Linked DNA regions of Homo sapiens: regions 2, 3, 4, 5 and 6 are each linked to region 1. The links are contacts of gene promoters, found by promoter capture Hi-C in blood cells and fetal thymus (Javierre and others, 2016). All regions are on one chromosome and are shown on one strand. Each heading gives the region's core, a stretch centred on a gene start or on the middle of the fragment in contact. The rest is flanking DNA. Distances are from core to core; before and after follow the strand shown. Region 1 holds the start of SLC17A7 (solute carrier family 17 member 7). Region 2 overlaps TRPM4 (transient receptor potential cation channel subfamily M member 4). Region 3 holds the start of PRMT1 (protein arginine methyltransferase 1). Region 4 overlaps LOC107985340 (a long non-coding RNA gene). Region 5 overlaps SLC6A16 (solute carrier family 6 member 16). Region 6 overlaps NOSIP (nitric oxide synthase interacting protein).

Region 1 (4,996 bases), core at 1,188-3,687:
TCAGGCCTGGGGACTTGGCGATGAGGAAAAACAACACTTAGGAGGCCATTACCCCAAATTGAGATGTCTCAACTTCTCTGTCTCTCCCTCTCTCTCTCTCTGCTTCTCTCAGGATCTCTGTCCACTCCCCCACGTCTTTGTCTCCTTATGTCCCTCTGCTCTCTCTTCTCTTCCCATTGTACAACTAAGGAAACTGAGGCTCGGGGAGCTGAAGTGGCACTCCAAGGTCACAGACAAGAACAGCAATGGGACCTGATCCCTTACTGGCCCTCGGCATCCCCCTGCCCAAGACCTGGCTCTCAGAAAGGAGGCACCTTGGGTTCTCATCTCTCTGGCATCCCATTCCCCCATGTCCTTGTTCCAAGTCACCCTGGGTGCAAGGAAGCTCCCCACCAGCTGTGGCATCACTCTTCTCAAGGAAGAGCTCTGTTCTAGGCTTGGGAGGGAGACTGACCTGGGTTCAAATCATGGGGCTCATACTCATCCACTGATCTCCCCAACCCCAGAATGGAGCCTCAGTTTCCCCATCTTTGTCTAGAGGATTAAATGAGATCAACCTGTTGTCTCTAATATGGGGTATTCCCCTCTCCCTCCAACCATCAGAGCAAACCCCAGGCATTGGAAGCAAATGCTTTTCTCTGCACAAACTCCCTGCTGATGGTCCTGGCCAGAGCCCGGGGGTCTCTGGGGACCCAAGAGGTAACTCAGAGAGTGAGAGCCAGAGAGATTGACTGTGAGAAACCCTAGCACAGATGAGAAACAGAGGCAGAGACTGAGGGAGGGGCCTGAGGAATACATCCCTCCCGCTGCCACCCCCCAGCCCCCTCCACCAGCACGTCTCTTTCTCTCTCTCTCATTCTCCTGACTTCACACTGATGTATTTTGAGAAACTCGTGAAAGGAGGCGAGAAAAAGGGTGGGGAGGGGCTGGAAAATTGGAAAAAGAAGGGGTGAGGTTATCTCAGCTTCCCCTCCACCACCAACCTCCGTCACTGCACCATCCTCCTGCCCACCTCCCCCCACTTCTGTCCAGCCTTATTCTTGTCTCTCATGTTACTAGAGGGTGGGGTAACTTTGGAGCTAAGAGGTGATCTGCAGCAAGCAAGACTGATGTTAGACTTAGCAAAGGACCCCCATGGCCTAGCGAGGTGGACTGAAGCTCAGCGAAACACAGGGTCAGGGCTGTGGGCCAAGGGGACAGGGCCTGAGGGCACGGCGGCAGGGGCATGGTGCTGATGAGGCCATCTCCTTCGTGCACTGTGGCCAGATATATTTTTAGGCTTTTCCGCAGCTGAGTAATTTATCTGACTTAGAGCCAAAGCTGGGGTTGGGGGTGAGAGCCTGTGGGGAGGTGTCCAGATTATCCTGAGGGACACTCGGTTCACTGGGGTCATCAACCTGGTTGGGAGGGAGTCCCTGTCAGCCCCAGCCTGTATCCTTTGGGAAGGCTGTCCTACCCCAGGAGCCGAAATTTTTGGCCTCTAACTCCTTTCTCTCCCAGGGACCCAGGGTGCTGTGACTTCTTCCACCCAGCCTCACCCCCTCAAGGACAACGGGCTATGAGCCCCAATCCGCTTTAGCTGCAGATTAAACTCCATGCCAGACAGAAACGGAAAAAGACACAGAGAGACGGAGAGACCCATGGTGGGAGAATTAAAACACAGAGACGGGGACAGGGACCCAGAGAAGTGGGGACCAGAGATCCAGGGAAGAGGAGAGACCCAGAAAGAGGGGGACAGAGACTCTGAGTCAGGAGTTGATAGAGATCCAGTGAGAGCAATGGCCAGAGAACCAGAGAGAGGGGCACAGAGACGCAAAGAAGCGGAGGCAGAGATCTAGGGAGAAGGAGGGGCCCAGAGAGAAGGGAGCCGAGATCTGGAAAAAGAGGGAGACGGAGACCCAGAGAGAAAAGGGGCAGAGACATCCAGAAAGAGACGGGGACAGAGACCCAGAAGTGGTGGGGGAGGAGCCAGAGACCCGGGAGAGAGGCATTTACAGCACCAGAGAGAGTGGAGCCGGGTGGGGTGGGGTGCAGAAAAAGGAACAGGATAATGGACAAGGCTCGACCAGGGAGAACAGCGCCGTCGGAGCCCACGGCAGAAAACTGGACAGATGGGTGGACCCCCATGCCGGGGTATCGCCCGTTCATCTGTCAGTCTGCGCCCAGGTGGGAATTAGCATCCTCCTCAGATCCTCCCACTCTTCTCCCGGGACCCCCGCCAGGCTCACCGGTGCAGCTTCCCGAGAGCACGACCCGCTAGCTTCCGAAACTCCTCCTGGCGGAACTCCATGGTGGCGGCTCCTGCCGCCGGTCACCCCGCGGGTCCCCCCCGCCGATCCCCCCGCCCGCGGGCCCGGGCGGCCGCGTCCGGGTTCCCGGGGTCCAGCCCCGGCCCGGCCGGCCCCGCAGCTCCGCTCGGGGGGAAGGAGGCTGCAAGTGCAGGCGGCCCGGGGGCTGTCACAGGACTCAGCGCCGGGGGCGGGGCGCGGGAGGCCCCGCCCCGGCCCCACCAGGCCCCTCCCCTCGTCTGTCAGACCCGCCCCCTCTCGCAGCCCTTTCATCCTCGTCCTGTCCCCTCCTGAGCCTTCCAAGACCACGCCTGTGGGTTCTGAACTCACGCCTCCGAGTTCACGCCCCCCAATTCTGTTCCTTCCCCAGGCTACTCCCCCTATCCCTGTTCCATCACCCCTGGCTCCTACCCAGATTTTCTCTCCTCTCCTGAGTTCTCATCCCCATCATTTCTCTCCCCGACTTCTGTTCCCCCTAATTGCGTCCCTTACAATCCTGTCTTCTCTGACTTTCCCTCTGCGTTCATCCTCCAGTTCCTTCACTCCTCCCCGCCCCCACCCCGCAATTCCATCCCCATCCCACCTCGTCCCCAGTTCCAATAGTCTCATCCAGGGAGTTCTTTGTTTTCTCATTCAAGGGAAATTCTTTCCCCTCAAGTCCAACGCCTACTTCGATCCACCTGTCGTCCCCCTCTAGTCCCTTTCGCCACCCGGGTTCTTCACCCTTGAGCTCCATCTCCTCCTTAGTTTCCATCTTTCCCCTTTGAATCCCATACTCCTCCAGCTCTATTCTCCCTCCGGCGTCTCTCTCCTCCCTGTTGCTTCTCTCCCTGAGTTTCATTCCCTAACCCCGATTTTCTTCCCTCTGGCTTCCGCCCCCCACAGTTATATTTCACACACCCCGCCAGTGCCAGCTGCGACCCCATAGTCTCCCCATTGTGTTATTTCTCTGCTCCTCTGGGATCTGTCCGCGCTCTGAGTTCTTCCCTAGCTCCGGGGGATCCATTCCTCTATTTGAGTTCTGTCTCCACCCCCTGAGATCTGTCCCGCCCCCTAAATTGTGATCCGCACCCCCTGGCATCCTCACCCGCCCTCTGAATTTGTCTCCTCCCCTAGGATCTGTCGCTGACCTGAGTTCTGCCCCCGCCCTCTGAGTTCTCTCCCCACCGTTGGAGTTGTGTCCCCTTCTCCTAGGATCTGTCCCTGGCTCTGTTCCCGCCCTCTCAGTTCTGTCCTTGCCCCCTGGAATCTGTTCCTGCCATCTGAGTTCTACCCCTTCCCCACAGGATCTATCTCTGCCCCCTGGAATCTGTCCCCACCCACCGAGTTCTGGCCTCCGTCCCTGGGATCTGTCCCCGCCCTCTGTGTTCTACCCCTGCCCCATGGGATCTGTCCCCGCCCACCCAGTTCTCCCCGCCCCCTGGATCTCTCCCTACCCTCCCAGTCTTGCCCCGGCCCCATGGGATCTGTCCCCGCCCTCCGACTTCTGACCCTCGCCACTGGGATCTGTCCTCGACCTCCCAGTCCTGCCTCCGCCCCCGGAATCTGACCCCGCCCACCGAGCTCTGGCCTCCGCCCCTGAGATCTGTCCCCGCCCTCCCAGTCTTGCCCCTGCCCCATGGGATCTGTCCCCCGCCCACCGCCTCCGCCTCTGGGATCTGTCCCTGCCCTCCCAGTCCTGCTCCCACCCCCGGAATCTGTCCCCGCCCACCGAACTCTGTCTCCACGCCGGAATTCCAGCGCCGCCCCGTTGGGTAGAGCCCGGCCCTTCCCTGTCCTGGGCCCGCAGACAGGGTCCCGCCCCGCTCCTGTCCTCAGACCAGCCCATCTCCCGGCGCTGAGTCCACCTCCAGATCCAGGCCCCAGGAGGGTGATCCTTTCCCCACTACCTCCCCGCGTCGGGCCGCAAATGCATTTGGTATTAAATTTTCATGATGCGGCCCGCGGTGGGGTGGGAGGAGCAGACGGCGCGTCGGGCGGGCGCCAAGGACGGGGTGGCCGGGAAGCCACTGACCGCCGCAGCCTCTCGCTTCCAGCCTTGACTGGCTGTGTCTCTGGGTCTCACAGCTTTGAGAAACCCCTGGGACCCCAGAACGGAGGACGCTGCGGGTCTGAGGCAGGAGGGAGGTAGGAACTGGGACTCGTGGGGCTGAAGTAGCAGCGCGGGAGCCGCTCACACGCGCCACCCAGTGGCTGCAGAGTCCCCGGCCCGGGTGCGGAGGCGGTGGTTGCGGCTTGGGGCCAGGTGTGAGGGTGGAGCAGATGGTGAAGAGGAGGGAGTGGGAAGCGGGCCCCGCCGCTGCCAAAACTTGGGCCTTTGCCGAAACCATCGCCATGGAAACCGAGGAAGGAGGAAAGGACTCAGCCGCACACTTTTTCAGGACCTGGGAATGAGTTACTCGGCCCCCTCCAGCGGCTCACCGTCCCAACCACAAGTCCCAGCGGCCTCTGAGCCTCAGCGCTCGTTTGAGAAGGGCCGCGCACTCCGAGGGCCGCTGGGAGATGTAGTTCTCTGAGACGATGGGCAGGGAAAGGTTGCGCCCTCTGGTGGACACGGCGCCCACGTTCGCTCATCCGTTCCGCGGCCGGAAAGACCCTACCTGAAGTCACTCCCACCCTGACCTCTTCCCCGTCTTTTCTCCCCCTCCCTCACAATTCACCCCATTGCAGACACATTGTGCTTGCCTGCCTGCCTTTTCTTTCCTTCC
Region 2 (4,996 bases), core at 1,650-4,149, 250 kb before region 1:
TAACCTCTCTGTGCCTCATGTGTACCAAGGAGGAGATACTAGTACCCACCCCCTTATGTGTCAAGGGTTCGGTGGACTAATCTACATAAAGTGCTTAGCCCTGTATCTGCCATATGGTGTCAATTTAAGTGTTGACTGTTTACTGCCAAAACCTGGCCTAAGTTGTCTTTGCCTTTCACCACCGTTTCCCTACCTCAATAGTTGTGGCTGTGACATTGGGCACTTGCTCTGTACTCTGGAGCTGCAGTCCAACCCTTGCTGGGCGTCTTAGGGACGGGGCTGTGGGGGAGATTTGGATCCTAATCCTTCCCACCCCCCACAGTCTCTGCTGACACAGAAGTGGTGGGGAGATATGGCCAGCACTACACCCATCTGGGCCCTGGTTCTCGCCTTCTTTTGCCCTCCACTCATCTACACCCGCCTCATCACCTTCAGGTCAGTACCCTGGGGTGAGAGTGGTGGGGATGGGGGCGGGGTGCTCAGTTTCTCCTTCCTGCCCCCTCTGCCCACCTTTCTTCCCTCATCGGCCCATTGTGTCCCTTCCCTAGGAATGGGACTCTCTGTCCCTCCACTAAGGGAGTGCTGTGGGAGGTGAGTTTTGGGGGGGATCCTCCCTGTGGTATCTCTAGTGGCAGTTACTCTGCCTTTCTGGCCATGGCTCTGGGGGAAGGTCCCTTTGGGATGACTTTAGGAGACCACCTCTCTGTCCCTCTGCCATGTCTCCGGGTGAAGAAGTTTGAGTTTTGCTGGAGAATGCCTCTCCACCTTCTCTTCCCCTCATTTCTTGCTCTGTGCTTCCCCCCTTGCTAGGAAATCAGAAGAGGAGCCCACACGGGAGGAGCTAGAGTTTGACATGGATAGTGTCATTAATGGGGAAGGGCCTGTCGGGTGAGTGGAGCCTCCAGCACTGTGTGAGGTGGGGACACCCTGGGCAGTTCAGGACATGTGCCAGTTCCACGTTGTGTTAGTCCCCTCTTGAGTTGCTACAAAGTTGCTAAACCTGAGACTGAGTAATTTATAAAGAAAAGAGGTTTCATTGGCTCATGGTTCTGCAGGTTGTACAGGAAGCATAGTGCTGGCATCTGCGGCTGGTGAGCCCTCAGGAAGCTTCCACTCATGGCAGAAAGTGAGGGAGGAGCCAGTGTATCACATGGCGAGAGCAGAAGCAGGAGTAGGGGTGCCACATAGATCTCATGTGAACTAACTGAGCAAAAAGTCTCCAAAGGGATGGTGCTGAGCCATTTGTGAAGGACCCACCACCAGGACCCAAACACTTCCCCCAGGCCCCACCTCCAACATTAGGGATTACATTTCTTTGTTCTTTTTTTCTTTTTTTTTGATACGGAGTCTCCCTCAGTTGCCCAGGCTGGAGTGCAGTGGTACAATCTTGGCTCACTGCAGCCTCTGTTTCCTGGGTTCCTGATCAGCCTGCCTCAGCCTCCCAAGTAGGTGGGAGTAGAAGTGCATGCCACTACGCCCAGCTAATTTTTGTATCTTTAAAGTAGAGTCGGGATTTCACCATGTTGGCCAGGCTGGTGTCAACCTCCTGACCTCAAGTGATCCGCGCACTTTGGCCTCCCAAAGTGCTGGGATTACAGGTGTGAGCCACCGGGCCCAGCCAGGGATTACATTTCTTTCTTTCTTTTTTGAAATGGGGTCTCGCTCTGTCGACCAGGCTGGAGTGCAGTGGTGTGATCTCCGCCTCCTGGGTTCAAGCGATTCTCCTGCCTCAGCCTCCCGAATAGCTGGGACTACAGGAGCCCACCACCACACCTGGCTAACTTTTGTACTTTTAGTAGTGACAGGGTTTCATCACATTGGCCAGGCTGGTCTTGAACTCCTGACCTTGTGATCCGCCCGCCTCAGCCTCCCAAAGTACTGGGATTACAGGCATGAGCCACCATGCCTGGCCCAGGGATTACATTTCAATGTGAGATTTGGAAGGGACAAACATCCAAACTATATCACACGTCCCATCAGGGACTGAGATACTGAGGAAGCTTCCCAGGTGCCAAGCTCAAGACTTGGCTCAAGATTTGGTTCTGCCATCAAGGAGGCCATCACCAGAAATTGATTTTCTTCATGCTACACATACTTCCATCCCTCTGTAGCAAGCGGAATCAGTTGATTGAGGGATTTTTCACCTATTTTGTTCGTGGTCCCAAGGCCCCTGCTTTTAATCACTATGCTATGGTTGCCGTTAAGGTATTTTAAAAGTCAGGCCTAAGCAAATGAAATAGAATATTTATCAAACTTCTTTTTTTGTTGTTGTTTTTGAGGCGGAGTCTTGCTCTGTCGCCAGGCAGGAGTGCGGTGCCGCGATCTCATCTCACTGCAACCTCCGCCTCCTGAGTTCAAGCGATTCTCCTGCCTCAGCCTCTCAAGTAGCTGGGATTACAGTCACCTGCCACCACGCCCAGCTAATTTTTTTGTATTTTTAGTAGAGACGGGGTTTCACCATGTTGGCCAGGATGCTCCCCATCTCCTGACTTTGTGATCTGTCCTCCTCAGCCTCCCAAAATGCTGGGATTACAGGCATGAGCCACCATGCCTGGCCTATATATAGTTTTTTAAGACAATGTAGAGAGGATACAAAATATTTATCTGTAGCCATAAAAAAGAACGAGATCATTTCCTTTGCAGTGACATGGTTGGAGCTGGAGGCCATTATCCATAACAAACTAACAGGAACAGAAAACCAAATACCCCATGTTCTCACTTATAAGTAAGAACTAAATGATGAGAACACATGGACACACAGAGTGAAACAACACACATTGGGGCCTATTGGAGGACAGAGGGTAGGGCGAGGGAGAGGACCAGGAAAAATAACTAGTGGGTACTAGGCTAAATACCTGGGTGATGGAATAATCTGTACAACAAACCCCCATGACACAAATTTACCTACCTAACAAACCTGCACATGTACCTCTGAACTAAAAATAAACGTCAAAAAATAAAAAAAAGAACAAAATATGTATCAAGAGAGAAGGGAAAAACTAAGATAAACATTTGGACCACTGAGAAAGGTTGATAGAAGGCCCCAGTGTCTGAGGTCAGGATCAGTAATGGTGTCCTTCCCTAGCAATTTCTCATCTGCACATGTGATGATGATGACGACCTTGATAACAGCTGATGTTATGAAACACGTACAATGAGCAACTACTGTGCTCAATTCTTTTGAAAATCAGTTGGTTTTTTTTTTTTTTTTTTGAGATGGAGTCTTACTCTGTCGCCCAGGCTGGAGTGCAGTGGCATGATCTCGGCTCACTGCAAGCTCCTCCTCCCGGGTTCACACCATTCTCCTGCCTCAGCCTCCTGAGTAGCTGGGACTACAGGTGCCCGCCACCACGCCCGGCTAATTTTTTTGTATTTTTAGTAGAGCTGGGGTTTCCCCGTGTTAGCCAGGATGGTCTCGATCTCCTGACCTCGTGATCTGCCCGCCTCGGCCTCCCAAAGTGCTGGGATTACAAGCATGAGCCACCGCACCCGTCCGGAAATCAGTTCGTTTAATTCCAACAACCCAGTGCAATAGGGCCTATAATTATTCTCATTTTGCAGGTGAAATAATGGAGTCATTCAGTCACTTGCCTCAGATCATGTGGTTGGTAAATGGTAGAGCCGAGATTTGATCCCAGATCCTCTTGTACCTGAGTCTGTGCTCTCAGCCCCTGTGGAGCCCCCCCACTGAGAGCTCTGTTGAAGGACAGATCCCAAGATCCCCCCAGAGAGGCTGGGGCTGAGCCCAGGAACCTGCCTGTGGCCTGGCTGGAGGTGATTCAAGATGGCAGATGTGGGGGAAGCTTTCTGACCCACCGCTCTCCCTTCTTACCAGGATTCTGCAGGAGAACTGTGAAATACCATGATGGTTTTCTCTATCAGTAGGGAGCTTGCTGTCCTCTCTGCATCTGACCTTCTTTCTCTAGGAGTTCTTAGTTTCTGTAGCTTTCACTATTCTCCTCCTTCTCCTCCTCCTTCTCCTCCTTGTCCTCCTCCTTGTCATCCTCCTTCTCCTCCTCCTCGTCATCCTCCTTCTCCTCCTCCTCTTCATCCTCCTCCTCCTTCTCCTCCTCTTCCTACTCATCCTCCTCCTCTTCCTCCTTCTCCTCATCCTCTTTCTCTTCCTCCTCCTCATCCTCCTCCTGCTCCTGCTCCTCCGCCTTCTCCTCATCCTACTTCTCCTCTTCATCCTCCTCCTGCTCCTGCTCCTCCGCCTTCTCCTCATCCTACTTCTCCTCTTCATCCTCCTTCTCCTCTTCCTCCTCTTCATCCTCCTCCTCCTGCTCCTGCTTCTCCGCCTTCTCCTCATCCTCCTTCTCCTGCTCCTCCTCCTCCTGCTCCTCTGCCTTCTCTTCATCCTCCTTCTCCTTCTCCTTTCTTCTTCTTTGAGACAGGATCTTGATCTGTCACTCAGGCTGGAGAGCAGTGGCGCGATCATGGCTTACTGCACCCTCAACCTCCCAGGCTAAGCCATCCTCCCACCTCAGCCTCTCAAGTAGCTACAGATGCATGCTATGCTCGGCTAATTTTTATATGTTTTGTAGAGATGGGGTTTCGCCATGTTGCCCAGGCTGGTCTCAAATTCGAAGGCTTAAGTGATCTTCCCACCTCGGCTTCCCAAAGTGCTGGGATTACAGGCATACACCACTGCGCTTGGCCTCACTTATTTCCTTCCTTCCTCCTTCCTTCCTTCTTTCCTTCCTTCCTTTCCTTTCCTTTTCTTTCCTTCCTTCCTTTCTTTCCTTCCCTTTCTTTCTCTCTCTCTTTCTCTCTCTGTCCCTCCCTCCCTTCCTTCCTTCTTTTCTTCCTTCCTTCCTCCCTCTCTTTTCTTTCTTTCTCTATCTCCTTCCCTCCCTCCCTCTCTCCCTCCCCCCAACCCTTCCTTCCTCCCTTCTGAGACAAGGTCTCACTCTGTTGCCTCCGCTGAAGTATAGTAGCTTGATCTTGGCTCACTGCAGCCTCAACCTCCCAGTGTCAAGTGATTCTCCTGCCTCAG
Region 3 (4,996 bases), core at 1,010-3,509, 240 kb after region 1:
TATAGATACAGTGGCACTATCATGGCTCACTGCAGCCTCAACCTCCTGGGCTCAAGTGATCCTCCCACTTCAGCCTCTCTAGTAGCTGGAACTAAAGGCATGCGACACGACGCCTAGCTAATTTTTAAAAAAGAATTTTTATGGGAGGCCAAGGCAGGTGGATCACTTGAGGTCAGGAGTTCAAGACCAGCCAGGCCAACATGGTGAAACCCCATCTCTACTAAAAATACAAAAATTAGCCGGGCATGGTGGTGGGTGCCTGTAATCCCAGCTACTTGGGTGGCTGAGGCACGAGACTCGCTTGAACCCGGGAGGCAAGAGGTTGCAGTGAGTTGAGATCACGCCACTGCACTCCAGCCTGGGCAACAGAGCGAGACTCCGTCTCAAAAAAAAAAAAATTGTAGAAATGGGGTCTCCCTTATGTTGCCCAGGCTGGTCTCCACCTCCTGGGCTCAAGTGATCCTCCTACCTTGGCATCCCAAAGTCCTGGGATCACAGGCATGAGTCACTGTGCCTGGGCGGTTTGTCTCCTTTATAGGGCCATATCCCCCTTCACAGAGTAATGTTTGTAAATTAATAAGTGAAATGTACAGGATTACAAACCGAACCAATTACAGTTGATCCTCAGTATTTGTAGATTATTTGCAAATTTGCATCCTTGCTACAATGTATTCATACCCCAAAAATTAAGGCAGTGCTTTTGTGGTGTTTTGGAGGGCAATGCTTATGCACAGAGCTGCAACAAGCTAAAGACCTGATGTGCATATTTGCAGCTGGGCTCCTCTTGCTTCAGCTCAAACACTGGAAACAAATGTCCTTTTCTTGGTTTGTTTAGTGCCATGCTTTTCAATTTTTTTTTTTTTTTTTAAAGTTAGAGTCTCGGTCTGTCGCTCGAGCTGGAGTGCAATGGCTTCATCCTGGCTCACTGCAACCTCCACCTCCTGAGCTCAAGCGATTCTCCTGCCTCAGCCTCCCAAGTAGCTGGGATTACAGGCGTGTGCCACCAGTCCTGGCTAATTTTTTTATTTTTATTTTTATTTATTTTATTATTTTTTGAGATGGAGTCTCGCTGTGTCGCCTAGGCTGGAGTGCAGTGGCACCATCTCAGCTCACTGCAACCTCTGCCTCCCGGGTTCACGTGATTCTCCTGCCTCAGCCTCTGGAGCAGCTGGGACTACAGGCGCCCACCACCACACCCGGCTAATTTTTGTTTTTTTAGTAGAGACGGGGGTTTCACCATATTGGCTAGGCTGGTCTCGAACTCCTGAGCTTGTGATCCGCCCACCTCAGCCTTCCAAAATGCTGGGATTACAGGCGTGAGTCACCGCGCCCGGCCAAATTTTTTTTTTTTTTTTTTTTGAGACAAGAGTCTCGCTCTGTCACCCAGGCTGGAGTGCAGTGGCGCGATCTCAGCTCACTGCAAGCTCCGCCTCCCGGGTTCACGCCATCCTCCTGCCTAAGCCTCCACGCCCGGCTAATTTTTTGTATTTTTAGTAGAGACGGGGGTTTCACCATGTTAGCCAGGATGGTCTCGACCTCCTGACCTTGTGATCCGCCCGCCTCGGTCTCCCAAAATGCTGGGATTACAGGCGTGAGCCACCGCGCCCGGCCGCCTGGCGTAATTTTTGTATTTTTAATAGAAATGGGGGTTTCACCATGTTGCCCAGACTGGTCTCGAACTCCTGATGTCAAGTGATCCGCCTGCCTCCGCCTCCTAAAGTGCTGGAATTACACCCGTGAGCCATCGCGCCCGAACCCTATTGTAAATTTTAAGTCTCAGGCGTTTGCCAGCGGCACGCCAGAGAGTATAGCCTGCGCGGAGGCCCAGAAACCAAAGAGCGAGCTCATTCCGGGATTGGAGAGAAGTGTGAGCAGAGGGAAGTAGAGGGATCGGGGAGAGGAGGGGCAGGACCCACGCATTCGGCCCTTTGCATTCAGCTTCATTCAACTAGGAACTTTTTCTGCAAATCAAGGAAAGCTTCCCGGAGGAAGTGGTGCCTAAGCTGTGCTCTGATTCACGTTTAGAAGCTGACCAGACAAAGAGAGGTGGGCGTTCCTGGCAGGGGGAGGGACTTGGCAAAAACCAAGTGGCTTGAGAGGGGTTGATGGTTTTAAAAAACTTGGAATGATTATGTCAAGGGCTAGGGATTTAATGTGTTGACGACGGACTCCTATTCCTCACTTGCTTCGGGACCCCAGCTATGCCCTTCCTCTCTCTGGGCCTCTCACCGATTCCGTTTTTCCCCCAGGTAATGAGCACAAGCTCCCTTTTTCCTCCAGACTCCCCCCGGGTTGGGAGGATCCACCGAGTGGACGAGGAGTGATAATTCCTTTGAGCCAATCGTTGGTGCCTGAAGCCCCGCCTTCTTCCCTACCCGTGGGCCAATTGCCGTGTTCTCCTTGAGGCCGGCCGCTTGGCGAGGGTGGGCCAAAGGCTGCGTGACGTCGCTTCCGGATAAACCAATGGCAGCGATTAGGAGGCGGGTCGTTTTGGTGATGGACAGGTGTTTCAAGACGCCCCTTTAGCGCGGGGCTCCCCGGGAAGCTTTGAGGCGGTGCTGGGTGTAAAGGGGAGGGCATTCCTGGTGGATTTTGCCCAATCACCAGTCGCGCTTCTTGCAATAGACGGGCAGTTTTCCCCATCCCGGGTCGACTTGAGGGGGCGGGATTCTGGACGCCAGAGTTGGCAAACCCCTGACCTATGATGGACGTATTCTCTAGCCAATTACTAGACGGTATTCTCAGACGGGCCGCCTCCATTGCCAATGAAATCTTCCAGCGGGGTCGCGGTAGGCGGGCCGTGGACCCTCTGGTATAAGGCGGTCCCGGGGGAGTGAGGAGAAAGGGGGGGTCTTGGCGGCCGGAGGAGGAGTAGGTGCGGGTGAAGATGGCGGCAGCCGAGGCCGCGAACTGCATCATGGAGGTGAGCGCTTGGAGCGCCGCCGTGGGCGGGAGGCGGCTTTGGGTCGGTGTTTCACGCCTCTGTGGTGGGGAAAGGGCTCTAAGTTGGCGATATGGGGTTGGAGGTCCCCCGCCGCACACGGGGGCGCCGCACGTTCCACATCCGGGGATATCGTTTGAGGTGACGGCTCCCTAGCTTCCAAGGGCCTTCGGCATCCGGCCTAGCGGAGGGTCTTATCCCCCCTCCCACGTGGAGGAGGGCTGGGGGCGCTTCCGGCCAGGCCCCCACGTGGCCGCTGCGCGGTGGGTGGGGAGGGGGTGTGCCGAGTCCAGTGGCCCGGCGGGCTCCACGTGCGGGACAAAGGCCCCGCCCCCGGCCGGGGAGGGGCGCCCAGGGGGGCGGGGAGGGGGTCCGACCCTCCTGACGCCCCCAGCCCTCCTCCCCGGGGACCTGGGCACACGCCGTGGGGTGTGATCGACCTGGGGCCCTCCACGATGTGGGGAGTCTCTTGGGAGGAGCAGTGCTTCTCAGCCCTTTACCAACCTCCTTCCGAGCTCCGGGGGCATCTGTTGGGATATCGGACCCGGTTTTGTGCGTTCTGGGTTAGGGACTGGAGGAAAACCAAGAATGGGGTCCCCCGCCGACCCCGTTTCCCCTCCCAGAATTCTCCCCCTCGCCCAGGGCTTTAGGAGTTGGGGGATGGGGCATGCCCCTGTGACCTCCCTCTGGGTGGTGGTGGGGCATCTAGATAGAGATTTTCCCATTAATAGGCGCCGTGCACCCCCTTGTGGCCATTTCTGGGTGTGTGGGAGGGACATCTTTTTCATGGGGCGTGTCCTGAAGCCCACCTCCCCTCGGATTTCTTCCTGGCGGGCGGAGGGAGGAGGGTATGTCCGCTGGGAAGGAGTTGTGGGAAATATGTAGGCTGAGAGCTTTACCCTACTGGAGCCGTTTATCTCCCCCGGGTCTTTGTGAGGGTGCGAGATGACCTCCTTCTTCCTGAAGCCCTGTGCAGGGTCCTGAGCCCTGGGGTCCTGAGAGTGGGTGCCTGAAATGGTTTCGAGTGAGGTTTGGTTCTCGTGCAGCCATGTGGGGGAGGTTTCAGTCTTGCGTTTCAAGCCCTCTGGGGCTGGGGTTGTCTGGCGGTAGTTTTCAGTGGTATTGAGAAATAGGCCCGAGTGGGAAACCCCCTCAGCACCTTTCTTCTTATAGGCATCCCCGCTAGCTTGGGAGAGCTGGAGGGAGGGTGCTTGGAGCCTAGTAGGTCATGGCCTGTGACGTGGCCCTTCTTGGAGACTTGGATAGTGGTCACATCTGGAAGAGATGTAATCTGATGGGGCCTCTGTCCTTCCACCCCTTACCTATGGCATTGGCTGGAGGGGCAGGTCAGCTCTCAGCTGTCAGGATGCAGCTCCCAGGGGTCACTGTAATGACTTCCCACCCTCTTGGCTGTCTCCTGCACCTGGGGCTCTATGGATGGAGGAAATAACTTTCCCAGAGGTGGCCTCAGGCTTGGCCGCACCTGGAAGTCTTCAGGGCCTGGGATGGGTGTCTGAATGGGGGCGATGGCCTGACTCCCCAAGCCACTTTTTTTTTTTTTTTTTTTGAGACGGAGTCTTACTCTGTCACCCAGGCTGGAGTGCAATGGCTTGATCTCGGCTCATTGCAACCTCCGCCTCCCGGGTTCAAGCGATTCTCCTGCTTCAGCCTCCTGAGTAGCTGGGATTACAGGCACCCGCCACCAGGCCCAGCTAATTTTTGTATTTTTAGTAGAGATAGGGTTTCACCATGTTGGTCAGGCTGGTCTCAAACTCCTGACCTCAGGTGACCCACCTGCCTCGGCCTCCCAAAGTGCCGGGATTGCAGGTGTGAGCCACCGTGCCCCCAAGCCACTTTCTGGAGTCCTCTCATTCTTAGAGGGTCCAGGAGCTGCCCATCTTCCCTGGGACCCTACCTTCGTGGGCAGAGGGTCATAAGGGAGGGGGTTGGTTCCAGCTGGTTTTGTTTGGGGCTCCTGAGTCCAAGGCAGGAGCTGGGGTCTGGGGTACTAGCTCTGGGGAAGTACCCGTGTGCCACACCTCTATTCTGGAATCC
Region 4 (4,996 bases), core at 968-3,467, 200 kb before region 1:
TCAGCTCACCTTGGCCTCCCAAAGTGCTGGGAATACAGGTGTGTGCTACTGTGCCCAGCTGCCCTAGCATTTTTGAAATTATAGATGAGTATTGCCTTTATTTATTTATTTATTTATTTATTTATTTATTTATTTGAGACAGAGTCTTGCTCTGTCACCCAGGCTGGGGTGCAGTGGCTCAATCTTGGCTCACTGCAACCTCTGCCTCCTGAGTTCAAGCAATCCTCTTGCCTCAGCCTCCTGAGTAGCTGGGATTACGGGTGTGTACCACTCGGCTAATTTTTGTATTTTTAGTAGACACAGGGTTTCACCATGTTGGCCAGGCTGGTCTCAAACTCCTGACCTCAAGTGATCTGCCCACTTTGGCCTTCCAAAGTGCTAGGATTACAGGCATGAGCCATCGCGTCCGGCCGAGCATTGCCTTTAACTTAAAGTCACCAGCTGCATTCGCCTCTAACAAGAAAGCCCACCTGTCCTTTGAAGCTTTGAAGCCAGTCATTGATTTCTCTATAGCTATGAAAGTCCTACATGGCATCTTCTTCCAGTAGAAGGCCTTTTGTCTCCATTGAAAATCTGTTGTTTAGTGCAACCACCTTCATCAATGATCTTAGCTAGATCTCCTGGATAACTTGCTGCAGCTTCTCCATCAGGACTTGGTGCTTCACCTTGCACCTTTTTTTTTTTTGAGATGGAGTCTCACTTTTGTTGCCCAGGTTGGAGTGCAATGGTGCGATCTTGGCTCACTGAAACCTCTGCCTCCCGGGTTCAAGTGATTCTCCTGCCTCAGCCTCCTGAGTAGCTGGGATTACAGGTTCCCGCCACCACCCATGCCTAATTTTTTTTCTTTTTGTAATTTTAATAGAGACAGGGTTTTGCAACGTTGGCCAGTCTGGCCTCGAACTCCTGATCTCAGGTGATCCTCTCGCCTCAGCCTCCCAAAGGGCTGGGATTACAGGCATGAGCCACCGTGCCCAGCCACCTTGCACTTTTCTTTACGGAGATGGCTACTTTCCTTAAACCTCATGAACCAACCTCTCCTGGCTTCAGGCTTTTCTTCTGCAGCTTCCTCCTCTCAGCCCTCATAGAACTGAAAAGTGTTAAGGCTTTGCTCTGGATTAGGCTTTGGCTTAAGGGTTTTACCTTCTGTCCAGACAACACTTTCTCCATATCGGTAATAAGGCTGTTTGACTTCTTATTTTTTATTGATTGATTGAGACAGAGTCTCGCTCTGTTGCCCAGGCTGGAGTGCAGTAGCACACAATCTCAGCTCGCTGCAACCTCCACCTCCCAGGTTCAAGCAATTCTCCTTCCTCAGCCTCCTGAGTAGCTGGGACTACAAGTGTGCGCTACCACACCAGCTAATTTTTGTATTTTTCGTAGAGATGGGGTTTCACCATGTTGGTCAGGCTGGTCTTGAACTCTTGTCCTCAAGTGATCCACCCGTCTCAGCCTCCCAAAGCACTGAGATTACAGGTGTGAGCCACTGCATGCGGCCACTCCTTAGTTTTGTGTTCACTGGAGTAGTACTTTTGATATCTTTCAACTTTTCCTTTGCATTCACAACTTAGCTAACTGGTGCAAGAAGCCTAGCTTTTGGCCTGTCTTATCTTTTGATGAGCCTTCCTCATAATCATTTCTAGCTTTTGATTTAAAGTGAGAGATGTGTGACTCTTCCTTTCACTTGAACACTGCGAGGCCATTGTAGGGTTATTAACTGACCTAATGTCAATATTGTGTGTCTCAGGGAATAGGTAGGCCCAAGGAGAGAAAGAGATGGGGGAATGGCCGGTGGGTGGAGAAGTCAGAACACACGCAACATTTATTAAGTTTGCCATTTTATATGGGCATAGTTTGTGGTGGCCCCAGTGACAATAGAAACATCAAAGGCCACTGATCACAGATCACCATCACAGATGGAAGAATAATAATGAGGCCGGTGCGGTGGTTCACGCCTGTAATCTCAGCACTTTGGGAGGCCAAGGCAGGTGGATCACAATGTCAGGAGTTCGAGACCAGCCTGGCCAACATGGTGAAACCCCGTCTGTACTAAAAATACAAAAATTAGCAGAGCATGGTGGTGGGCACCTGAAATCCCAGCTACTCGGGAGGCTGAGACAGGAGAATCGTTTGAACCCAGAGGCGGAGGTTGCAGTGAGCCAAGATCACAAAATTGCCCTGCAGCCAGGGCACAGGGTGAGACTCTGTCTCAAAAAAAATAATAATAATGAAAAGATTTAAAATTTTATTGTGAGAATTACCAAAATGCAGCCCAGAGACACACAGTGAGCGCATGCCGTTAGAAAAAAATGGTGCTGATAGACTTGCTCAATGCAGGGTTGCCACAAACCTTTGATTTGTTAAAAAAAAAAAAATGCAGTATCTGTGAAGCACAATAAAGCTAAGTGCAATAAAATGAAGAGTGCCCTATAAGAGCTTAGTCACCCTTCACCTCGAGTCCTTGATTGTGATATCTTACCGTGTTTCCTTTATCATCACCGCCTTTCACATTTATTATAACAATACCTATTATGTAGCAGACCCATTTGAGAGTAAGCTGTAGACATGATGCCCCTTTACTCCTAAATACTGCAGTGCGTATTTCCAGAACGGGGACATTCACCTGTGTAACCACAGTGCCATTGAAATCATGAAAGTAACATCGATCTACTTCTATTATCTACAGACCTTATTCGTTTTTCCCAATTATTCCAATATGCTTTTTTTTTTTTTTTTGAGTTGGAGTCTTGCTCTGTCACCCAGGCTGGAGTGCAGTGGCGTGATCTCAGCTCACCAGAACATCTGCCTCCTGGGTTCAAGTGACCCTCGTGCCTCAGCCTCCTGAGTAGCTGGGATGACAGGCATGCGCCACCAGGCCCGTCTAATTATTGTATTTTCTGTAGAGATGAGATTTTGCCATGTTGGCCAGGCTGGTCTCGAACTCCTGACCTCAAGTAATCCGCCTGCCTCTGCCTCCCAAAGTGCTGGGATTACAGATGTGAGGCACTGCGCCTGGCCTAGTCTGTTTTTCTTTTTTCTTTTTCTTTTTTTTGAGACAGTCTCTTGCTCTTGTCACCCAGGCTGGAGTGCAATGGTGTGATCTCAGCTCACTGCAACCTCTGCCTCCTGAGTTCAAGCAATTCTCCTGCCTCAGCCTCCTGAGTAGCTGGGATTACTGGCACCCACGACCACACCCGGCTAATTTGTGTATTTTTAGCAGAGATGCGGTTTCACCACATTGGCCAGGCTAGTCTCAAAGTCCTGACCTCGGGTGATCCCCCCACCTCGGCCTCCCAAAGTGCTGGGATTACGGGCGTGAGCCACCGTGCCCAGCCCCCTGTGAAGTATTAAGAAGGGCACTGGGGCTTCCTGTAGCACTTGGAACAGTGTTCTCAGTGCCCATACGTGTCACCACCCTAATCTCACACAAAAAAGACCTCAGGTGATCCGCCTGCCTCTGCCTCCCAAAGTGCTGGGATTACAGATGTGAGGCACTGCGCCTGGCCTAGTCTGTTTTTCTTTTTTGTTTTCTTTTTTTTTTTTCCACTGGAGCCGGAGCTCAAGTGACTTAGGAAGCATCTCCCACGTTGGATTTTACCTTCCTTCCACCACAGCCCAGGTGATTTGCAGTTCCTGGTGGCTGGTGGTCTGTCCTGGCTCTGAGAGGAGACAAAAGGGGTGGGGGTGAGGGTGGGGAGGGGGTCCCAGCCTCTTCTCTCCCTGCTAGAGTTTAGCCCCACCCCTATTCCACACAGCCGTTCCCCAGGCTGGGACATCCCAGACCCAAAGTCCCTGGAGAGCGAGGGAGGAGGAGGAAGGGGCCCAGGGGGTGGTGGGCCTTTGCCTCTGAGCTCTCAGGGCTCTCTAAATTGGGCTGTAGAATTGGTTACGTTGGGGATGCAGGAAGAAAAATTGACGACTTCTGCTTCTATTTTTTAAACAAAAATAAGCAAAATAAGCTTCACTGATACCGTGTGTAGAATGACAGTAGATCACAACGTAAATTTTCGATGTTTGTTTGCGATGTTTTTTCAGAAAGTTGTTATCTAATAGGGGAGTGTGACAAACGTTTAGAGACTTCTAAGGTAAATAAAAAGGTGTGAGGGGCAGGTGGAGATTTGGGAATTGGTCGGGAACCAGGAAGCTGGCATTGATTTTTTTTTTTTTTCCAAGGCCATGAACTTTGTGGGGATGAAGGGGTCTTTGCCCAGGAAGTCACTGAGCAGTATGGCTTCTAGAAGATGCCTCCCCTGCCCCGAGCTGCCTTAACCCCGTTTGACGTTCAAAGACGCAGGTGATGTCACCCCCTCCCACTGACAACACAGTAAGGTCCAAGTTCTCTGAGGCTTCTTGGGCCGTGGCCCAGGGAAAGCAGGTGACCCACCTCCCAGTGCCGAGTGGGCAAGGAACTCGACCCCGAGTAAGGACCAAGCATGACGGTGAGCTAGAGAGGACCTACATGCCAGGTTCGGTTCTGGGCACGTTACCCTCTATTTTCTTATTTTTATTTATTTAGAGTCTCACTCTGTTGCCCAGGCTGGAGTGTAGTGGGGTGATCTTGGTTCACCACAACCTCCACCTCCCAGGTTCAAGCAATTCTCCTGCCTCAGCCTCCCAAGTAGCTGGGACTACAGGCATGCACCACCACATCTGGCAAATTTTTAAATTTTTTTTAGTAGAGATGGGGTTTCACCCTGTTGGCCAGACTGGTCTTGAACTCCTGACCTCAGGTGATCCGCCTGGCTCGGTCTCCCAAAGTGCTGGGATGATACTGTGCCTGGCCTTGTTTTATTTGTAGAGAGATGAGGTCTCACTCTGTTGCCCAGGCTGGAGTGCAGTGGCGATTCATAGGCATGGTCCTCATGGGCTACAGCCTCAGACTCAAACCTCAGCCTGAGTAGCTAGGACTCCATGGGTGCACTGCGCCGGGCTCAGCACCCCACAGTGGTGAGAGTTGTTACGGTGATTTAGTGTGGCCGTCGGTTACTCAGGTAGACTT
Region 5 (4,996 bases), core at 1,855-4,354, 150 kb before region 1:
TGCCTCTGCTCTTTCCTTTCTGCAGATCCACCTCTTGAGTCCTGCCTGCCAATGGTTGGGGGTGTCTTCTTTTCCTTTATCACTGAAACTTACCCGTGGGCTCTAAGCAATCTAAAAGCCTGAGATCTCTGAGCATTTAAGGGAAACCCATTCCCTGGATCTTTGGGAATCCCAATCACCTCTGTCCACAGCCCCCATCCCCAGCAGGTAACTGACAGGCCCCCCAGTCTCCTTTTGGGGAGTACTTCAGCACCCTCATGGCACTACCCTCCCACAAGTTCTTAAAGACCCACTCAGTGATCATCCACTGGGCAAGTTCAGTTGATTTGACCCTGGGATAAAAACCAGTGGTGCCCAGTACTGAGCAGAAATGGGACTCTTGGTGAGCTCAGTGAAACAGCTTGTTAGTAACTGGTTGTGGCACTGATTTACAGATGTACTCAGTCCACAACACAATGTTCAAACCTTGAGTGCAACCTCTTTTTAGAAATAATTTTAGACCTATAATAGGATTATCATGTATCAGTAGCAAGCACATTAATATCTTCCCCATCTTTGTTGAAGTCACCATTTCCCAGGTTTCCCTTGGCTAAAGGCCAGCCCGTGGATAATGCAAGCCTGGTAATCTAGTATCTGAGTTTGCCAGAGCAAGGGGAGGGCAGGAACTCAGGGCTGGACATTTAGCTTTAGAAAGACTGTGATATGGTTTGGCTGTGTCCCCATTTAAATCTCAACTTCAGTTGTATCTTCCAGAATTCCCATGTGTTGTGGGAGGAACCCAGGGGGAGGTAATTGAATCATGGGGGCTGGTCTTTTCCATGCTGTCTCATGATAATGAATAAATCTCATGAGATCTGATGGGTCTATCAGGGATTTCCACTTTTGCTTCATTTTCTCTCTTGCCACCACCATGTAAGAAGTGCCTTTCACCTCCCGCCAGGATTCTGAGGCCTCCCCAGCCATGTGGAACTGTAAGTCCAATTAAACCTTTTTGTTCCCAGTTTCAGGTATGTATTTATCAGCAGCATGAAAACTAATACAGTAAACTGGTACCAGTAGAGTGGGGTGTTGCTGAAAAGATACCCAACAATATGGAAGCAACTTTGGAACTGGGTAACAGGCAGAGGTTGGAACAGTTTGGAGGGCTCAGAAGAAGACAGGAAAATGTGGGAAAGTTTGGAACCTCCTGAAGACCTACTGAATGGTTTTGACAAAAATGCTGATATGAACAATAAGGTCCAGGCTGAGGTGGTCTCAGATGGAGATGAGGAACTTGTTGGGTACTGGAGCAAAGATGACTCTTTATTATGTTTTAGCAAAGTGACTAGTGGCATCTTGCCCCTGCCCTAGAGATTTGTGGAACTTTGAACTTGAGAGAGATGATTTAGTGTATCTGGCAGAAGAAATTTCTAAGCAGCAAAGTATTCAGAAGGTGACTTGCGTGCTGTTAAAAGCATTCCGTTTTAAAAGGGAAACAGCATAAAAGTTCAGAAAATTTGCAGCCTGATGATGCAGTGGAAAAGAAAAATCCATTTTTGAGGAGAAATTCAAGCCAGCTGCAGAAATTTGCATGAGTAGCAAGGAGCCTAATGTTAATCCCTTAGACCATGGGGAAAATGTCTCCAGGCCATATCAGAGACATTCATGGCAGCCCCTCCCATCACAGGCCCAGAGGCCCAGGAGGAAAAAGTGGTTTTGTGGGCCAGGCCCAGGGTCCCCATGCAGTGTGCAGCCTAGGGACTTGGTGCCCTGTGTCCCAGCCACTCCAGCCATGGCTGAAAGGGGCCAACGTACAGCTCGGGCTGTGGCTTCAGAGAGTAGAAGCCCCAAGCCTTGGCAGCTTCCACGTGATGTTGAGCCTGCGGGTGCACAGAAGTCAAGAATTGAGGTTTGGGAACCTCCGCCTAGATCTCAGAAGATATATGGAAATGCATGGATGTCCAGGCAAAAGTTTTCTGTAGGGGCAGAGCCCTCATGCAGAACCTCTGCCAGGGAGGGAAATGCAGAAGGGAAACGTGGGGTCAGAGCCCTCACACAGAGTCAGAGTCCCTACTGGGGCACTGCCTAGTGGAGCTGTGAGAAGAGGGCCACTGTCCTCCAGACCCCAGAATGGTAGAACCACTGACAGCTTGCACCCTGAGCTTGGAAAAGCCACACTCAACACCAGCCCGTGAAAGCAGCTGGAAGGGGGACTGTACCCTGCAAAGCCACGAGGTGGAGCTGCCTAAGACCATGGGAACCCACCTTTTGCATCAGCATGACCTGGATGTGAGATCTGGAGTCAAAGGAGATCATTATGGAGCTTTAAAATTTGACTCCCCTGCTAGATTTTGGACTTGCATGGGCCCTGTAACCCCTTTGTTTTGGCCAATTTCTCTCATTTGGAATGGCTGTATTTACCTGATACCAGTACCCCCATTGTATCTAGGAAGTAACTAGCTTGTTTTTGATTTTACAGGCTCATAGGTGGAAGGGACTTGCCTTGTCTCAGATGACACTCTGGACTTTTGGATTAATGCTGAAATGAGTTGAGACATTGGGGGACTGTTGGGAAGGCATGATTGCTTTTGAAATGTGAGGACATGAGATTTGGAGGGGCCAGGGGCAGAATGATATGGTTTCACTGTGTCTCCATTTAAATATAAACTTCAATTATATCTCCCAGAATTCCCACGTGTTATGGGAGGGAACCAGGGGAGGTAATTGAATCATGGGGGCTGGTCTTTTCCATCCTAATCTCGTGATAGTGAATAAGTCTCATGAGATCTAATGGGTTTATCAGGGGTTTCCACTTTTGCTTCTTCCTCATTTTTTTCTCTTGCTGCCATCATGTAAGAAATGCCTTTCACCTCCCACCATGATTGAGGCCTCCCCAACCATGTGGAACTGTAAGTCCAGTTAAACCTCTTTTTGTTCCCAGTTTCAGGTATGTCTTTATTAGCAGTGTGAAAATGAACTAATACAGACTGGAAGCCTTGTGACAGGAAAACTGAACATCTGAGACATCTATAGGAAAAAAAGATCTGCTTACATCCAGTCCTTGGAGTTCCAGTAGACTGATTTATTCACCAACAGCATTGCTCCTCCAGCTCCATTCCAGGAGACAGGCACCCCAGAAGTAGCAGGACTGGTAGACATCACTAGTATTGTATATGTGTTGTGCATGTATGTGTGTTGAGGAAGAGGATGGGGAAAACAATGATGGTGGTCACCAGGTAAGATGGGACCCAGGAAGGGATTGCAAGTCCAGGCCCCATGAACACCCCCAAAGAATGCCCCTCCTCTTGGAAATAAAAGTGGTTCTGGATCCAGGGAGATCAACAGTTGCAAGCTGATATTAAGAGTTGTCTATTGGATCTGTTCTAAGGGATATGTTATGTGAAGCCAAATTAATGAAGTTAGGAAGTCACATTACAAGTTGATGGGTACTTTGTTTCATCAACTTGTAGAATTTCTTCCTTTTGAACCTCTTTACTGGGTGTTAGCTGGTGACTTAGGGGTAGGGATGTGGAGGCTGTCATAGGCCCGTCTCCGCTCTTGGGCCTGAAGGGAATCCTATGTATGCGGCAGTATACAAAGTATGCAGGGATGGGGAGGATGACAATGGCAAAAAGGGTGATCATCAAGAGCAGTGCCCACGGTGGGTATGGTCGAAGCACCTCTTTTGACTGTGGAGAGATGGGAAAAGGGTTCAGAATATCAAAATCCCCAAGAGAAAAGGAAGAGTTGTGGAGGGGAAGGATGGGTGGGGAACCAAAGCAGAAAACCCATGAGTCTTCGGGCAGTAAGAGAATGAGATGACTGGGTTCTTTCACCCAGAGTGAATTGAAAGGTCTGGCCCCTACTCCCAAAGGGGTTCTGGGTCCTGGGGGAGGCTCACGGTGCTTGAGTCCCAGGACATGTAGGTGATCGGCTTCATACAAAGATGAACCATCATGGTCACAAAGATGATTAGCAGCACAACTGGACACAGATGGGGCCACAGCCAACCAAAGATGGGAGAGATGGGGTGGCCCAACAGGATCGTCAGGTCTGCAAGGAACCTGGAGAAGGGCCACCAGAGTGTGGGATGCCCAGTTAGGCCTCACCACCTTGGAGGCAGGGCCAGCCCAACCTTGGCATCTTTCAAACATTCTATTGTATCTCTAATCTCCTGTTTCATCTCAAGTCTTGTCCTCTCTCATCTTCCCCCTAGTCAGTCTGTCTTCTATCCTAACCCAAGAAACTTTTCCAAACACCCCTCTCCTGCTCAAGAACTTTCCATGGGTATCCAATGGCCTCAGGAGAAAGGCCAAGTCTCTTTCATTCATCCCATAAATATGAGAATGTCTATGATGTGCCAGGAACTCTTCTAAGTGCTGGATATCCAGCAGTGAACAACACAGATAAAATAAAGTGGCATTTGGCCCTTGGTGAACTTATCTAGTTTATTTCAGCCACCTATCCAGTCTCCTTTAGTACATATTCTCAATCTCAATAAATATACAAGTGGGGTCTTTTGGTCTAGGGTGCCCATCACCCTATCTCCACCTATTCATCTGTCCAGGCTCTGCTCAAGCATCCTCTTCTCTAGGCCACCTTCCCTAACTCTCCAGTCTTCCTTAACTAACCATCTATGCCCCCGGAGTTTCCCTGGCTACCTCTACTATAGACTTACCACCGGGTACTGGGATTTTCTGCTTATATACGTCTTTCTCTTTGGACTCTGAGCTCTTTGAGAAGAGTATCTCAATGTAAGTCATTCATATCCCAGTACCACAAGGCTTTCCTGACACAAAGTCTCAAGAAAATGTTTGTTGGGTGAGTTAATAAATGAGTCCATAAGTGAGCAAACTGACTCCAAGAACCACTATCAGATGAAAATGCTGAGGCTTTCACCCCTGAATTATACCAGGAACTCTTCTAAGTGCTGGATATCCAGCACTGAACACAGATAAAAGAAAGTGGCATTTGGCCCTTGGGAAACTTATCTAGTTTATTTCAGCCAACTATCCAG
Region 6 (4,996 bases), core at 1,268-3,767, 130 kb after region 1:
AGCCTGGTCAACATGGTAAAACCCTGTCTCTACCAAAAATACAAAAATGAGCCAGTCGTGGTGGCCACCTGTAATCCCAGCTACTTGGGAGGCTGAGGCACAAGAATCGCTTGAACCCAGGAGGCGGAGGTTGCAGTGAGCCGAGACTGTGCCAATGCACTCCAGCCTGGGTGACAGACACTCATCTCAAAAAATAAAGAAAGAATAAAATATAAAGAACTCTTGCAGACAAAAGGCTCCACATGACACATATTAGTTGCATTCAGGAAAGATTGTCTCCTGCTCTCAAGTAGCCTGCAAGTAGGATCCAGAAGTTGGGGTGGGGAGCACAACCAAGGGTCCCACCGATGTAAAAAGCAACTTCATCTCTATCGCCCCCTTCTGGTTGCTTTGAAAAACTTGCCTTTCCCATTCAAAACTTGAAACACAAACCTCTGGGAGCTATGGAGCTCTCTCTCCCCCTACTGGCGTCTTCTCAGAAGCCACTCTTTGGGTTTTAGGTATATTTACACAGAATCAAAGCAAAGACCTTTACAGTTGGATGCGATCTGACAAATGTATACACCCTTGTGACCACGACCCTATGGAGATACAGAACCTTCCTATCACGCTAAATACCCCCTCACGCCCCTTCCCGATCAATGTGCCCCCTGAGGCAGCCAGGGCTGCTTGCAGAAGGGCGACCTTGATCAAACACCCCAACTTGACCCAGGGTCCCCTCCACATGCCAGGCTCCTCCTCCGACTTCCCCCTGACCCCCAAGCTTCTCAGTGAACGTCCAACACCTGTTGCCTCCCCTCACCTGCCATCCGCTCCCCAGCCCCCACAACTGCCACTCATGAAGGTCACGGTGACCTTTTCATGGACACATTCCCCACTCTATTCTTAGTTGTCAACTCCCTTGACCCTCTGCAGTATTTGGCTCTGGGCACCTCGGCTTTCCCAGAGATGAGCTTGCTTGCTGTTTTGTGGCCAAGAACTGAGGTTTCTACATAGATGGGGACATTTTCCCTCCAAAAATAGGAGGAACACCTATAGAGGGAGCATTTAAACTTTTTTTAATTTAATTTGTTTTTTTTGAGATGGAGTCTTGCTCTGTTGCCGAAGCTGGAGTGCAGTGGTGTGATCTCGGCTCACTGCAACCTCCACCTCCTGGGTTCAAGCAATTCTCCTGCCTCAGACTCCCAAGTAGCTGAGATAACAGGCGCCCACGCCCAGCTAATTTTTTTTTTTTTTTTTTTGTATTTTTTAGTAGAGACAGGGTTTCACCATGTTGGCCAGGCTAGTTCTGAACTCCTGATCTCAAGTGATCCGCCCACCTCAGCCTCCCAAAGTGCAAGGATTACGGGCATGAACCACTGCACCCGGCAAACTCTTTGATTTTTAAAACTCAGTGATTTTTAAGATCCTGAGACCAGAAAGCGTGAGCGCCTCCAACCAAGGGTGGAAGAATAGCCAGTTTCAGGATTTACAAACTCTGAAAGCTGAGCTCTCCTGCCCCACACTATATTGTCTCTTTGGTAGGTCCAATTTCAAACTACAAAGCAGACTGCTGCCATCTGCTGTCACCAGCATTTCAGAGAGGAAACAGGCAAAGAGCAGGAGCGACCGATGTCAGCATAATCCCTACCTCACAGCACAGGAAACAGGCTCACAGCATGTCCCAGCTGGGAAATGGCAGAGCTGGGACTCAGACCCAGGCAGCCAGGCTCTGGAGCCATTCCTTTTAACTAGGTGACAACTGTCAGTTTTCCTAGGAAAGTCACAATCTCAGAAAAAAGGCCAATCAGGCTGGCCACGGTGGCTTAAACCTGTAATGCCAGCACTCTGGGAGGCTGAGACGGGTGGATCACAAGGTCAAGATGTTGAGACCATCCAGGCCAACATGGTGAAACCCCATCTCTACTAAAAATACAAAAATTAGCTGGGTGTGTTGGTGCGCGCCTGTGGTCCCAGCTGCTCGGGAGGCTGAGGCAGAAGAATCGCTTGAACCCAGGAGGTGGAGGTTGCAGTGAGCCCAGATCGCACCACTGCACTTCAGCCTGGCGACAGAGTGAGACTCTGTCTCAAAAAAAAAAAAAAAAAAAAGCCAATCCATTCCTTTATTTGTAGCCTTTGAAATCCAGAATGTATTTTACTCTTTCAGCACATCTCAGTAATTTCAGTAATTCAGATGCTAAATTTTCTTTTTTTTTTCTTTTTTTTTTGAGATGGAGTTTCGCTTTTATCACCTAGGGTGGAGTGCAGTGGTGTGATCTCGGCTCACTGCAACCTTCACCTCCCCGATTCAAGTGATTCTCCTGCCTCAGCCTTCCAGGTAGCTGGGATTACAGGCACCCGCCACCATGCCTGGCTAATTTTTTGTATTTTTAGTAGAGATGGGGTTTCGCCATGTTGGGCAGGCTGGTCTCGAACTCCTGACCTCAGGTGATCCACCCGCCTCAGCCTCCCAAAGTGCTAGGATTACAAGCATGAGTCACTGCACCCAGCCTTTTTTTTTTTTTTTTTTTTTTGAGACAGAGTCTCGCTCTGTTGCCCAGTCTGGAGTGCAAAATAGTGCAATCTTGGCTCACTGCAACCTCCACCTCCAGGGCTCAAGCCATTCTCCTGCCTCAGCCTCCCAAGTAACTGGAATTCCAGGCGTGTGCCACCATGCCCAGCTCATTTTTGTATTTTTATATTTGTATTTTTAGCACAGATGGGGTTTCACCACATTGGCCTGGCCATCAGATGCTAAATTTTCATTGGAGATACTTTAAAATATATATATATATATGGCTGGGAGCAGTGGCTCACGCCTGTAATCCCAGCACTTTGGGAGCCCAAGGCGGGCAGATCACCTGAGGTCAGGAGTTCAAGACCAGCCTGGCCAATGTGGCGAAACCCTGTCTCTACTAAAAATGCAAAAATTGGCTGGGTGTGGTGGCAGGTGCCTGTAGTCCCAGCTACTCGGGAGGCTGAGGCAGGAGAATCGCTTGAACCTGGGGGCAGAGGTTGCAGTGAGCCAAGATCGGGCCACTGCACTCCAGCCTGGCCAACAGATCAAGACTGTGTCTCAAAAAAAAAAAAAAAAAAAAAGCCCGGCTCTGAAGCAGACCCTGGCTCTAAGCATTTTACTGAATATCATAACACCTCAAACGGTCGAATATCACAACACTCCACTGAATATCACAGCACCTCAAATAGTTGCTATAAATGAAGAGAGGCACAGAGGCGGTGCCCTAGGTTATGCAGCTAGTGAGTCCTACAGCTGTGTTTGATCCAAGCACCTGTGGCTTTGACCATCCACTGTGCCAGCTGGCTGCAGGCGGCCTCAGGCACTGTGCTGAACTCTGGGAGTGGATCAGACAGCTAGTGTGTGTCTTGTCCTCCCCTGAAATCCTGTCTCCTTTCTCCTCCAGAGCACTGCCAAGGTTTGCCTCCTCCAAGAAGCCTGCCTCTCCGGGATCAGTTAGGTTCTCCTTGCACTTGACCGTGCCCTGAGCTACCTCCGTTACAGCCCGTCCCTCGGTATTTCGGCTCCAGAGTAGGGGCCCTGGTTGGTGGGGCCTGGGTTGAACTTCAGCCTGGGTCCCAGCATTGCCTGGCACCTGGGAGGTCTCAGAGATGTCATGATAGAATCAATGAACCACCTCCAATCCTAGGGCCAGGGGAGGTGGGTTAGCAATGAACTAACCATGCAGCCATGACATCATGCCATTAATACACTAATAATTCATTAGTAACATGTGAATCACAGAAGCACTGGAAGAACAGAAGTAATCATCACATCCTTCAACCCCTTAAGAATCAGACCTTGTGGGAAGCACTTTCCACATGTGAACACATTCGGTCCTCATGACAACCTCCCCACGTTCTGCCCATTTATTTTATTTTATGTATGTATGTATGTATGTATGTATTTATTTTGGAGACAGTCTCACTGTCACCAGGACTGAAGTATTTTTTTTTTTTTTTTTTTGGAGACGGAGTCTCACTCTGTCACCCGGACTGGAGTGCAGTGGCACGATCTTGACTCACTGCAACCTCCACCTCCCAGGTTCAAGTGATTCTCCTGCCTCAGCCTCCCAAGTAGCTGGGATTACAAGCACACACCACCATGCCTAGATACTTTTTTTGTATTTTTAGTAGAGACGGGGTTTCACCATGTTGGCCAGGCTGGGTCTTGAACTCCTGACCTCAGGTGATCTACTACCTCGGCCTCCCAAAGTGCTGGGATTACAGGCATGAGCTACCGCGCCCAGTCTTGCTCATTTAATAGGTAGGAAAATTGAAGCTTGGAGAAATTGGCCTCTTCCTCAGTCTATTCCTTGACAAACCAGCCTCAGGGGGGCTTTTCAGAATGGAAGTTTGATTAAGTCACTCTCTTCAACTGCTTCTTGGACATGACTCAAGACAAAAACCAAATTATTCAGACTAAGTGTAAGAGAAATGGGAGAATAGGAAAACTGCCATTTTGCAACCTCTGGTGAAATAGCTGACTCAGGCAATGATTGTTGATGGATGGCATTAAAGGAGAGGCTGATGGGGCCTGGATAGTCACAGGATGCTAATTCTTGCTACTGGAAAATACACAGTTGTAGCTTTACAATGCGGTTTTCGATGGCTGCCACCTGTCTCAGTCTGCTCCAGCTGCCATAACAAAACACCACTCTGGGTGGCTTAAACAACAGACCTATTTTCTCCAGTTCCTGAGGCTGGAAGTCTAAGTTCAGGCTACCAGCATTGTGGGGTTCTGGTGACACCCTCTTCCTGGTTTGCAGATGGCTATCTTCAGTGGCAGAGAGAAAGCTCTCTGGTGTCTCCTTCTGTTTTTTGGGAGGAGTCTCACTTTGTCACCTAGGTTGGAGTGCAGCGGCGGATCTCGCCTCCCAGGCCCAAGTGAATCTCCTGCTTCAGCCTCCTAAGTAGCTGGGATTACAGGCGTCCACCACCATGCCTGGCTAATTTTTTTTTTTTTTTTTTGAGACGGAGTTTCGCTCTGTCACCCAGGCTG

The links. Contacts are between HindIII fragments. The CHiCAGO score rates a contact against its expected background, and 5 or more counts as called.
Region 2: a fragment that was not itself captured here is called in contact with the fragment with the promoter of SLC17A7 in region 1 in 1 of 17 cell types (naive B cells); the score reaches 5.8 in naive B cells.
Region 3: a contact is called between a fragment that was not itself captured here and the fragment with the promoter of SLC17A7 in region 1, in 7 of 17 cell types (naive CD8 T cells, naive CD4 T cells, total CD8 T cells and 4 more). The highest score is 11.1, in naive CD8 T cells.
Region 4: a fragment that was not itself captured here is called in contact with the fragment with the promoter of SLC17A7 in region 1 in 3 of 17 cell types (total B cells, naive B cells and endothelial precursors); the score reaches 9.1 in total B cells.
Region 5: a contact is called between a fragment that was not itself captured here and the fragment with the promoter of SLC17A7 in region 1, in 3 of 17 cell types (naive B cells, total B cells and endothelial precursors). The highest score is 13.6, in naive B cells.
Region 6: a fragment that was not itself captured here is called in contact with the fragment with the promoter of SLC17A7 in region 1 in 4 of 17 cell types (naive CD8 T cells, total CD8 T cells, naive B cells and 1 more); the score reaches 6.8 in naive CD8 T cells.

What each region holds. Positions count from the first base shown.
Region 1 is chr19:49,439,090-49,444,085 of GRCh38, forward strand. It overlaps SLC17A7 (solute carrier family 17 member 7), which reads right to left and starts at 2,438. Exons shown (of 12, transcript NM_020309.4): 1 at 2,229-2,438. The coding sequence starts at 2,290. RefSeq lists an enhancer at 4,732-4,841. The HindIII fragment of the contact is 19,375 bases long and covers 1-4,996 here.
Region 2 is chr19:49,189,886-49,194,881 of GRCh38, forward strand. It overlaps TRPM4 (transient receptor potential cation channel subfamily M member 4), which reads left to right. Exons shown (of 25, transcript NM_017636.4): 15 at 323-435; 16 at 811-888. Among named protein-coding and RNA genes, the nearest start is that of TRPM4, 35 kb to the left of the region's middle. The HindIII fragment of the contact is 1,803 bases long and covers 1,999-3,801 here.
Region 3 is chr19:49,674,394-49,679,389 of GRCh38, forward strand. It overlaps PRMT1 (protein arginine methyltransferase 1), which reads left to right and starts at 2,878. Exons shown (of 11, transcript NM_001536.6): 1 at 2,878-2,923. The coding sequence starts at 2,888. RefSeq lists enhancers at 2,363-2,512, 2,517-3,248 and a silencer at 3,093-3,372. The HindIII fragment of the contact is 567 bases long and covers 1,977-2,543 here.
Region 4 is chr19:49,239,555-49,244,550 of GRCh38, forward strand. The region is part of intron 2 of LOC107985340 (a long non-coding RNA gene); the gene reads left to right. Among named protein-coding and RNA genes, the nearest start is that of MIR4324, 67 kb to the right of the region's middle. The HindIII fragment of the contact is 3,473 bases long and covers 482-3,954 here.
Region 5 is chr19:49,286,725-49,291,720 of GRCh38, forward strand. It overlaps SLC6A16 (solute carrier family 6 member 16), which reads right to left. Exons shown (of 12, transcript NM_014037.3): 11 at 3,881-4,043; 12 at 2,914-3,668. The coding sequence ends at 3,399. Among named protein-coding and RNA genes, the nearest start is that of MIR4324, 20 kb to the right of the region's middle. The HindIII fragment of the contact is 6,288 bases long and covers 1-4,996 here.
Region 6 is chr19:49,569,916-49,574,911 of GRCh38, forward strand. The region is part of intron 1 of NOSIP (nitric oxide synthase interacting protein); the gene reads right to left. Among named protein-coding and RNA genes, the nearest start is that of NOSIP, 8.1 kb to the right of the region's middle. The HindIII fragment of the contact is 3,513 bases long and covers 762-4,274 here.